Regions from separate parts of the Homo sapiens genome. Here regions 1 and 3 are each linked to region 2. The links are contacts of gene promoters, found by promoter capture Hi-C in human tissues and cell types (Jung and others, 2019). All regions are on one chromosome and are shown on one strand. Each heading gives the region's core, a stretch centred on a gene start or on the middle of the fragment in contact. The rest is flanking DNA. Distances are from core to core; before and after follow the strand shown.

Evidence for each region. Contacts are between HindIII fragments. The study calls those that stand out against the background at their distance.
Region 1: a contact is called between a fragment that was not itself captured here and the fragment with the promoter of SLC5A11 in region 2, in 5 of the 25 tissues and cell types used here (H1 embryonic stem cells, IMR-90 fibroblasts, dorsolateral prefrontal cortex and 2 more).
Region 3: a fragment that was not itself captured here is called in contact with the fragment with the promoter of SLC5A11 in region 2 in 2 of the 25 tissues and cell types used here (bladder and hippocampus).

What each region holds. Positions count from the first base shown.
Region 1 is chr16:24,962,055-24,964,754 of GRCh38, forward strand. It overlaps ARHGAP17 (Rho GTPase activating protein 17), which reads right to left. Exons shown (of 20, transcript NM_001006634.3): 7 at 2,143-2,254. Among named protein-coding and RNA genes, the nearest start is that of ARHGAP17, 52 kb to the right of the region's middle. The HindIII fragment of the contact is 8,561 bases long and covers 1-2,700 here.
Region 2 is chr16:24,844,576-24,847,275 of GRCh38, forward strand. It overlaps SLC5A11 (solute carrier family 5 member 11), which reads left to right and starts at 1,388. Exons shown (of 17, transcript NM_001352248.3): 1 at 1,388-1,437; 2 at 1,657-1,863. The HindIII fragment of the contact is 12,271 bases long and covers 1-2,700 here.
Region 3 is chr16:24,746,228-24,748,927 of GRCh38, forward strand. The region is part of intron 2 of TNRC6A (trinucleotide repeat containing adaptor 6A); the gene reads left to right. Among named protein-coding and RNA genes, the nearest start is that of TNRC6A, 18 kb to the left of the region's middle. The HindIII fragment of the contact is 3,228 bases long and covers 1-2,700 here.

The DNA.
Region 1 (2,700 bases), core at 50-2,549, 120 kb after region 2:
CTTGGAAATGCTAGTTAGAAGTAATGAACATCCTTTTATAATAACTGGGAAAGCAATAAAGTAAATTCCTTGATTCCCCTCAACCCCACCATACACACACACACACAAAGAGAGAAAGAAGAAAAAGAAGCAGAAAGAAAGAAAAAGTCGGAATGCTAAGCATCAATGGAAGCTGGAGATGACCTGGGGCAGATTTGTGCCAGTCTTGGTGACCAAGGTGTCTGAAGCCTTGGGGACTAGTAAGGAGAAACAAGTACACATATATCATGCATAAAGATAAGATTCCTGAAGAACTGTACTCTCAACGAAACAACAGATTAGAACAAATGCACTTAGCATCACATGGAAATCATGGGGAAGTATGTCTGTTTTGGAATGGGCTTTAGGTCTGAGAAACATTGGCCAAGAGATTTCACAAAACATAGGCCTGCTTTCAGGAGGGTTTAAAGTTTAAATTTACTGACATGTGGTCCCAGAAACCCCAAACTGATTTAAGTTTAATTAAAAATGGACCTGGACTGGTAATACTCTCTGGGAAGTCTCATTCCCAATCCCTGATAGTCCCACAGATAAAGCCCCTCTTAAAATGAGTTCAAATAATTACAAAACACATGAGGAAATAATCCACCACAAGCAGACACCTACCACTCTCACAGAGAATTTCAGAAAACAGAATTAACAGAGATTATTAAATAAGTATGTTTAAAATGACTTAAAAGAAAGAAACACTAGAAAAGAATAATGTAGTATCAAAAAGATTTGAATAACTAGAACTTCAGAAATGGAAAATATAGTCAATGAAATTAAAAACTCAGTGTTATTTGAGTAGCAGATCAAACATAGCTAAAGAGAGAATCAGTGAAACAGAACATAGATCTGAGGAAATTACCCACAAGGTATGCATAGAGAGAGAAGGAGGCAGAAAATATTTTCTTAAGTTTTTACCACTTGAAATACTGACAAGTGTGGAAGTTGAGAGAACAGACATCAGCCCATGATGACTTCCTAAACCTCTACCCAAATTTGTGTGCAATAAGTAGGCAATAGCCAGGATCTAGGTTAGACCAGATATTAAGAAGACTGCTGGGTAAATGACACTGACAAAGCTACAACTCTTCAGACCACAAATAAGCCAATGTGACATTATTTTAGTAGAAGCATTTATCTGAATATCATCTTTTAAACATAAAAACTTTTTAAAACAAAGGCATAACTTTGTGAGTTTAGTTTTAATTTCTACCCACTATATTATTTTTATATTTTTCTTATATTTCTACCCACTATATTATTTTAAACAAGTCATTTAATTGCAGTTAACTGATCAAGGTTTGCTATTTTGAAAAGCAAAGTATGTCATGACCTAAATGAACTAAAATATAACAGTCTTAATATTAGCAGGAAATAAAAAAACAATTTTTTTAAAACAATGAAAAATAAGAGCAGGAAAAGTCTAAGTCAATCCAGACTTAAGACTCTAGATTGTCAAGACTCCCCGAAGACCTATTCCTTTACCATTTCAAATAATTTCACCTCAAATAACATTCAGAATGAACATCTATCTACACAGGTGGATGCAGAGAGAATGAGATCACTTGACCATCTAATTAATCTGTAATTTATGAGATAAAAAGCTCTATTTCTCCCAAATTACAAACCAATTGTTCAAGCAACATTTTAAAAGTAATCCTTATCTTCTCCAAGGACATATGAGCCATTTACTGTATATTAAATTTTACATTATAGCATTCATTCCAGAAAACCTATACTATTTCACTGATCTATTTTAATGCTTCTTATACAGTTTTACTTCTTTTTTCTTACTTTTGTATTTCTTATGCATTTTTAATCGCTGTAATTTTATTATATGTTTTGCTATGGTTTTCTTTCCTTTTTTCTGACTTCATCTTTAAATAAGCTTAGACATCTTGTCAAGTTTTTAAAAATATCCTATTTGAAATTTAAAATGTTTTATTCTGATCATAAAATAATATAGTCTTAGAGAAGAAGAAAATAAAACCTACCTTTAAAATCATTCAAAATATTCTGATAGAAATTATTTAAAACATTAAGTAACTTACATTTGAACTTTCATCCCTCATTTGCAAAAACCGAAAAGATACATTTATCAAGGAATTCTCATACCTTGCACTGTTCTACTTTATTTCCAGCTTCATCCATCTCTTCCTTTAGAGTATCTATTTTTGATGGAAGCCCCTGAAAGTTGGTTCCTGAGGATTTGTGAGCTTGGTTCCACCTGCAAAACAAAGGGGTCACCAGCATCTGAGAACCAGCTGTGTATACTCAACAGCTGGAGGCAGGACCTGGTGGAGATAGATCCTTCCCCACAATTGATTCTACCTGGAAGGGGTATCATTGCCCAGGATGCCAAATTCTCTTGAGCTTATTCTCTAAGAATGGAAGCAGGCAAAAGGAGACTTTAGCTTCTCACCATGACAGGACTCTCATAGTGCTAGGAGTAGTGGTCTGCTTTGAGCATAACCAACCACATCTTGTCTCACACAAACTCTACTACTGGAGAGAAATCCATGGAACCCCTTTCTTGTGGTGGCCAACCATGGAATCCCTGCCACCGGAGGAGAGCAAGGTGCTCTCCTTGCTCTCTTGCTTTGAGCTGAAATGTTCCCTGTGCCACTGGGAATCAGCTCCTGCTTTTGAGAACTCCTTGTGGCTCTTTCCACT
Region 2 (2,700 bases), core at 138-2,637:
TGTTGGTCAGTCACCCAGTGTTTGCTCACCCAGGCCACCCTTTATCCAGTCAAGCCACCCTCCACTGCTCCTGCAGGACTCTAGAGCCAGGTGGCCTGGGCTGAAATCTTGCTGTGTCACTTACAACCCGGGTGATCCTGGGCCGATGACTCATCTCCTCTACCTCTGTTACCTCGTCAGTAAGATAGAGATAACAGGACCTAACTTCGAGGGTTGTTGGAAAGACCAAGTGAGTAAAGGCATGTTGTGCCCTTAGAGCCTGGCACGTGTTCATCACTGCTATTATTTCTGGCTACTCGGTGCCAGGACAGGGGCCTCAGCTGAGGGCCCCCCAGAGCCTGGCAGGCCCAGTGAAGGAGTGAGATGGGGAGGCCACGACTCCTCCCCAGTCAGCAGCTGTCCTGTGGCCATGGGGGCCTGGTGAGGCCAGATCTTCAGGTTGTTCTAGAAAAGTGAGTATTCTAGAATTATGTTTCAAGCCTCTTGGTTTGCAAATACTAGTAACTATTTTTAAAATGTTTTGGTATTTGGCCTGGCACAGTGTTTGACCCCTGTAATCCCAGCACTTTGGGAGGCCAAGGTGGGAGGATCACTTAAACCCAGGAGTTGGAGACCAGCCTGGGCAACATAGCAAGATTCTCTCTCTACCAAAAAAATGAAAAAATTAGCTGGGTGTGGTGGTGCACGCCTGTAGTCCCAGCTACTCGGGAGGCTGTGGTGGGAGGATCACTTGAGCCCAGGAGGATGAGCCTGCAGCAAGCTGTGATGCCACCACTGCACTCCAGCCTGGGTGACAGAGTGAGATCCTGTCTCAGAAATAAAAAGTAAATAAAGTTTTGGATGCTTTGAGCATCTGGCAGAAATCTTCGCTATGCCCCGCTGATGTCCTGGGCCCGATGTGGGCGCCTGGCCATGGCTCGGTCACTCCTGACGGTTTTTCAGGGCCTCAGACACCTCTTCTTCTTCTTCTTCTTCTTTTTTTGAGACTGATTTTCGCTCTTGTTGCCCAGGCTGGAGTGCAATGGTGTAATCTCGGCTCACCACAACCTCCGCCTCCCGGATTCAAGTGATTCTCCTGCCTCAGCCTCCCGAGTAGCTGGGACCACAGGCATGCACCACCATACCCGGCTAACTTTGTATTTTTAGTAGAGATGGGGTTTCTCCATGTTGGTCAGGCTGGTCTCGAACTCTCGACTTCAGGCAGACACCTGTTCTTTGCCATGCCTCTGTCTGAAGAGTATATGGAAAGGGGTTGCACAAGCAATGGTTGCTGTTCCTGTTGCTGCCACTGCGGTGAGGGCTGTGGCTGGACGTCCCTCCTGGCACTTTGCCTCTGTCCCCTCCATCCGCCGCCAGCATTTTTCCTCCCCTCCCCTTCCTCCAGCTCGTCCCAAGCCTGCCTGTCCCCAGCGTGGAGGCGGGACAGTGGAAGACTGGGTGAGTGAAGCAGGATGGTGCCTTGGGCTCCAGCGTCTCCCCAACCCCTCCATGCCATGGGTCCCCACGCAGGTGAGGACCCTGGTGGAGGACGGTGTGGGCAGAGCGTGGGACATGTCACCTTCCCCACCTGCTCAGAGTTCAAGGGTCCTGGGCTGGGCCCCGTTCTCTCTTCTGCCCTGGGGAGATCATTCACGCTTCCTTTAATCCCCGCTGCAGCTGAGGCTGGAGTTTGGAGTTTGACCCGCTTGGAGGCTCTCTCAGCAGCGGGCATATAGGAGGAAGGGTCACTGCTGTCTCCGGAAGCTCTTGGCTGCAAAGAGAGAGGATCCCGGGTATCTCCCTCCTTACAACCACCGCCACCTCCTAGTGCCTTAGAAGCCACTGACAGCCCCCAGGGCAGGTGAGCCCTGCATCTGGAATAAGGTAAGACACCCCCTGCCCCCAAACAGGTAGCCACTCTCCAAACTGGGAAGTTGGTCTGGGGACAGGTGCTGGCAGAAGGACTCCAGCTGTCACCTGTGGGGCAGGGGAAGCTCAGCCCTCTCTGCAGAGAAAGCTTGTCATACACCAGGACAATGGAGTGTGTTTGTGGGGTGGGCATGGTGGTATGAAGCCAGCAGCCGGCAGCCAGCAGCACCGTACGTGGGTCCCAGCTCTTCCACTTAACCAAGGTCAGGGACATTGAGCCAAACATTTTGCCTCACCGAGTCTCAGGTTCCTTATCTGTCAAATGGGAATATGAACCTCAGGCTGACCCACCCCACAGGTGTGTTACCCAGAGATAACGAAGGTAAATGTATCCACATAAGCATTAAAAAGCTATAGGAATGTATTTACTACAACTGCAGCTGCTGTTAACTACAAGGCAAATACAAGTCTTCACTGGTACGTGTCAGACACGTGCAGAGAACTTTACGCCTGGATCTCATCTAACTGACACAGAAACCCTGTAAGGTAGGTACAGCACCCCCTAATTCATGGACAGAGTCTAAGGGTCATTAAATAACTTGCTCAAGGTAATACAGATAGTGAGTGGCCAAGCCAAGACTCAATTCCTGTGGCCATGAGCTCAGCCACAATATCAGTGATTTTCTTTTTCTTTCCTTTCTTTCTTTTTCTCTTTCTTTCTTTTTCTTTCTTTTCCTTTCTTTTCTTTGTTCTTTCTTTCTTTCCTTCTTTCTTTTATTTCTTTCCTTATTCCTTTCTTTCCCTTTCTTTCTCCTTCCTTCTTTCCTTCCTTCCCTCCCTCCCACCTCTCTG
Region 3 (2,700 bases), core at 92-2,591, 98 kb before region 2:
TTTCTACAAAATTGTAGGAATTTTTTTCCTATAAAAAAAATCATGTTTCCTAGCTGAGTGCAGTGGCTCACCCCTGTAATCCCAGTACTTTGGTAGGCCGAGGTAGGAGGATTGCTTGAGCCCAGGAGTTTGACACCAGCACCACCTCATTCCAGCTCGGGGCAACTGAGTGAGACTTCGTCTCTAAATAAATAAATAAGAAGTTTAGTGCTTGAGGTTTCTATTGGGAGCTGGTTCTGTACACTATGGAAATCTACTCCCCGCCCCACTTTAAAATTACTGTGTAGTATTCCTTGGTGTGATTACAGGATGATTTAACTTTTCCCTATTGATTGGTTTTTGGTTATGATTTTATGCTGCGGTGTCTATCTTTGTACGGTTCCTTTTTCAGAGGCTTAGATTTGAATTGATGGATCATAAGATAGTGACATTTAAAAATTCATTGTGAATAGATACTTCCAAATTGCTCACCAGAAGCTTAGTGCTAGTCCATACATACTTCTGATAGCAAGTACAAGAGTACCCTTCAGAAGGGATTAATTTTAATGATATTCAGGGCTGGGAATGTAGGAAAAATTGACCATCAAGTGTCAGGAGGCGCAAGAGTAGGAAGGGGCATTCTACCTCCAAGGTGTACCCTGCTCCCTTGATAGGCCCTTGAAATAGAGACAGACTCTCACTATGTTGCCCATTCTGTTCTCAAACTCCTGGCCTCCCAGACTCCTGGGATTACAGGCCTGAGCCACCATACCCGGCCAGAAACGCATTCTTGAACGGTACAAGTAAATCATTTGTAGTGGCTACTGGAAGATACGGGCAAAATTTGAAGCTTAGCTTGATTTGTTGTGTGGAATCCTAATCTTGATCTATTTGTTTTTTCAGATCGAGATATTGCATTTCCCCTAGTCAATGTATGAAACCAACTTTAAAATACAATTTACATACAGTAAAATTCAAACATTGAGTGTGTAGGTGAATGATTTGACAAATGTATACACCCTTGTAATTATCACTCCAATCAAGTTAGAAAACATTTCCATTTTCCTAGAAAGTTCCCTCAGTGGCATTGACTTTTACAGGCCACCTCAAAGCCTTTATACATGAGATGCAGGACATAAGTCAAGTTCTGATAAAAGGGGAGTCTGGTTTTTACAGACAACGAGGTAGATTCATAGAACTTACAGATGTGAGGTATCCTGCAAAGTAGCCTTCAGGGCATGGATGATTGCTAACTGGAGTGTTGTCTTGGTGGCAGGTGCATCAAACAGGGTGGCCCACTTAGGCCTTTCAAATCCATCAGTCCTTGCTCCTCTTGATAGTTGTGGTAAATGATATAGTCAGATGTCTTAAGTGAGTCTCTATGAACATTTAACTCCTGGAAGCTGACGTGTTTGGGCACAGGTGTTGTTGTTGTTTTTCCAGTTGGCTTTCTCTGAAGGAGGAGATATGGGAAAAAGCATGACTGGTTGGCTGTGATGATAGTGTTGAAGAACAAAACTTACTCCCCTCTGTGCTTACAGTATCGGCTGATACTGTGATATTTCCTTGAGAAGAAATGTCTGGTACATCTTTTAAGTACTAAAGGGGATATTTTTGGCCAGGAAAACACTTGCTAGTAACCTCATCAGAAAGTCTTGAAAATGAAGTTTGAGAAAGGAGAAAATACTCCAGATAGAGACCATTACATGGAGTAAAATTATAGTGACATAGAAGATCAGAAAAGGACATGTCTGTAATTCACAGCAGAACATGAAGAACAAATGCTGAAGGTGCTAGATGTTTCTGAATAAGTACCTGTGCTATTTTGACACAAGAAGGGTAAAGACAGCCTTTTGGGTGCCACTGAGGACTGGTGAGTTGGATTCATGGCTAGGCAATTGAGTGCTTACTAGATAAGCTTTGTGCTAAGTAAGCAGTCCTAATTCTTATAAAAATATTAAGACATTGACATGTATGGTCATTTGCCCCCAGTTTTTTCATGAAGAAACAGAGGCTGAAGAAGATTAAGTATTTTTAACTAGTAATCAGCTTTTAATCTTGACTTCTGCATGTCTCAGGGTAGGTAACATGACAGTGGTGTAACCTAGTTGCCGTTGTTTACTGATTTTACTCTGCTGCTCTCATATGCTGTGGCTTTCTTGCTCCTTGACTTCCCTGGGATTGTAGTGTGAGTGAGCTTGTTCAGTCTTACTACCTCCTGCACACAGAATTCAAAAGAGAGTGAGTCATGGCCACAGTTGGCAGGAATCTGTTATGTTACTCCATTAGCCACATGACACTTCTGCTTGTAACAAAATGACAGCGAAGTATAGCAACAGTTATCATACTCTTCTTCCAGTTATCCTTTTAGCTGATTTTAGTAGTCCTATACTTTACTAAGTTTTTATCAATTGTGCATAATGTCATTCATTTCATTTTTCGGTGTCTGCATCTCCTCTCAGTCTGTTCCATCAGCAAAGCCAACTTAAATTTTGTTTAATCTCATTGCAGCGCACCTATAGCAACAACCCCTTCCAGTTTCTTAGGCACTTGTCTTTCTCCTTTTATCTTCTTCAACATCCCTACTGCCATATGCATTCCAGCCTTGATAAATAATGTGCAGCTTCCAAAATGTCTAGTTCATATCTCCAAATCTCTCTTTTTCTGCCTGATATTCCTTTTTTTTGAAACAGAGTCTTGCTCTGTCGCCCAGGCTGGAAT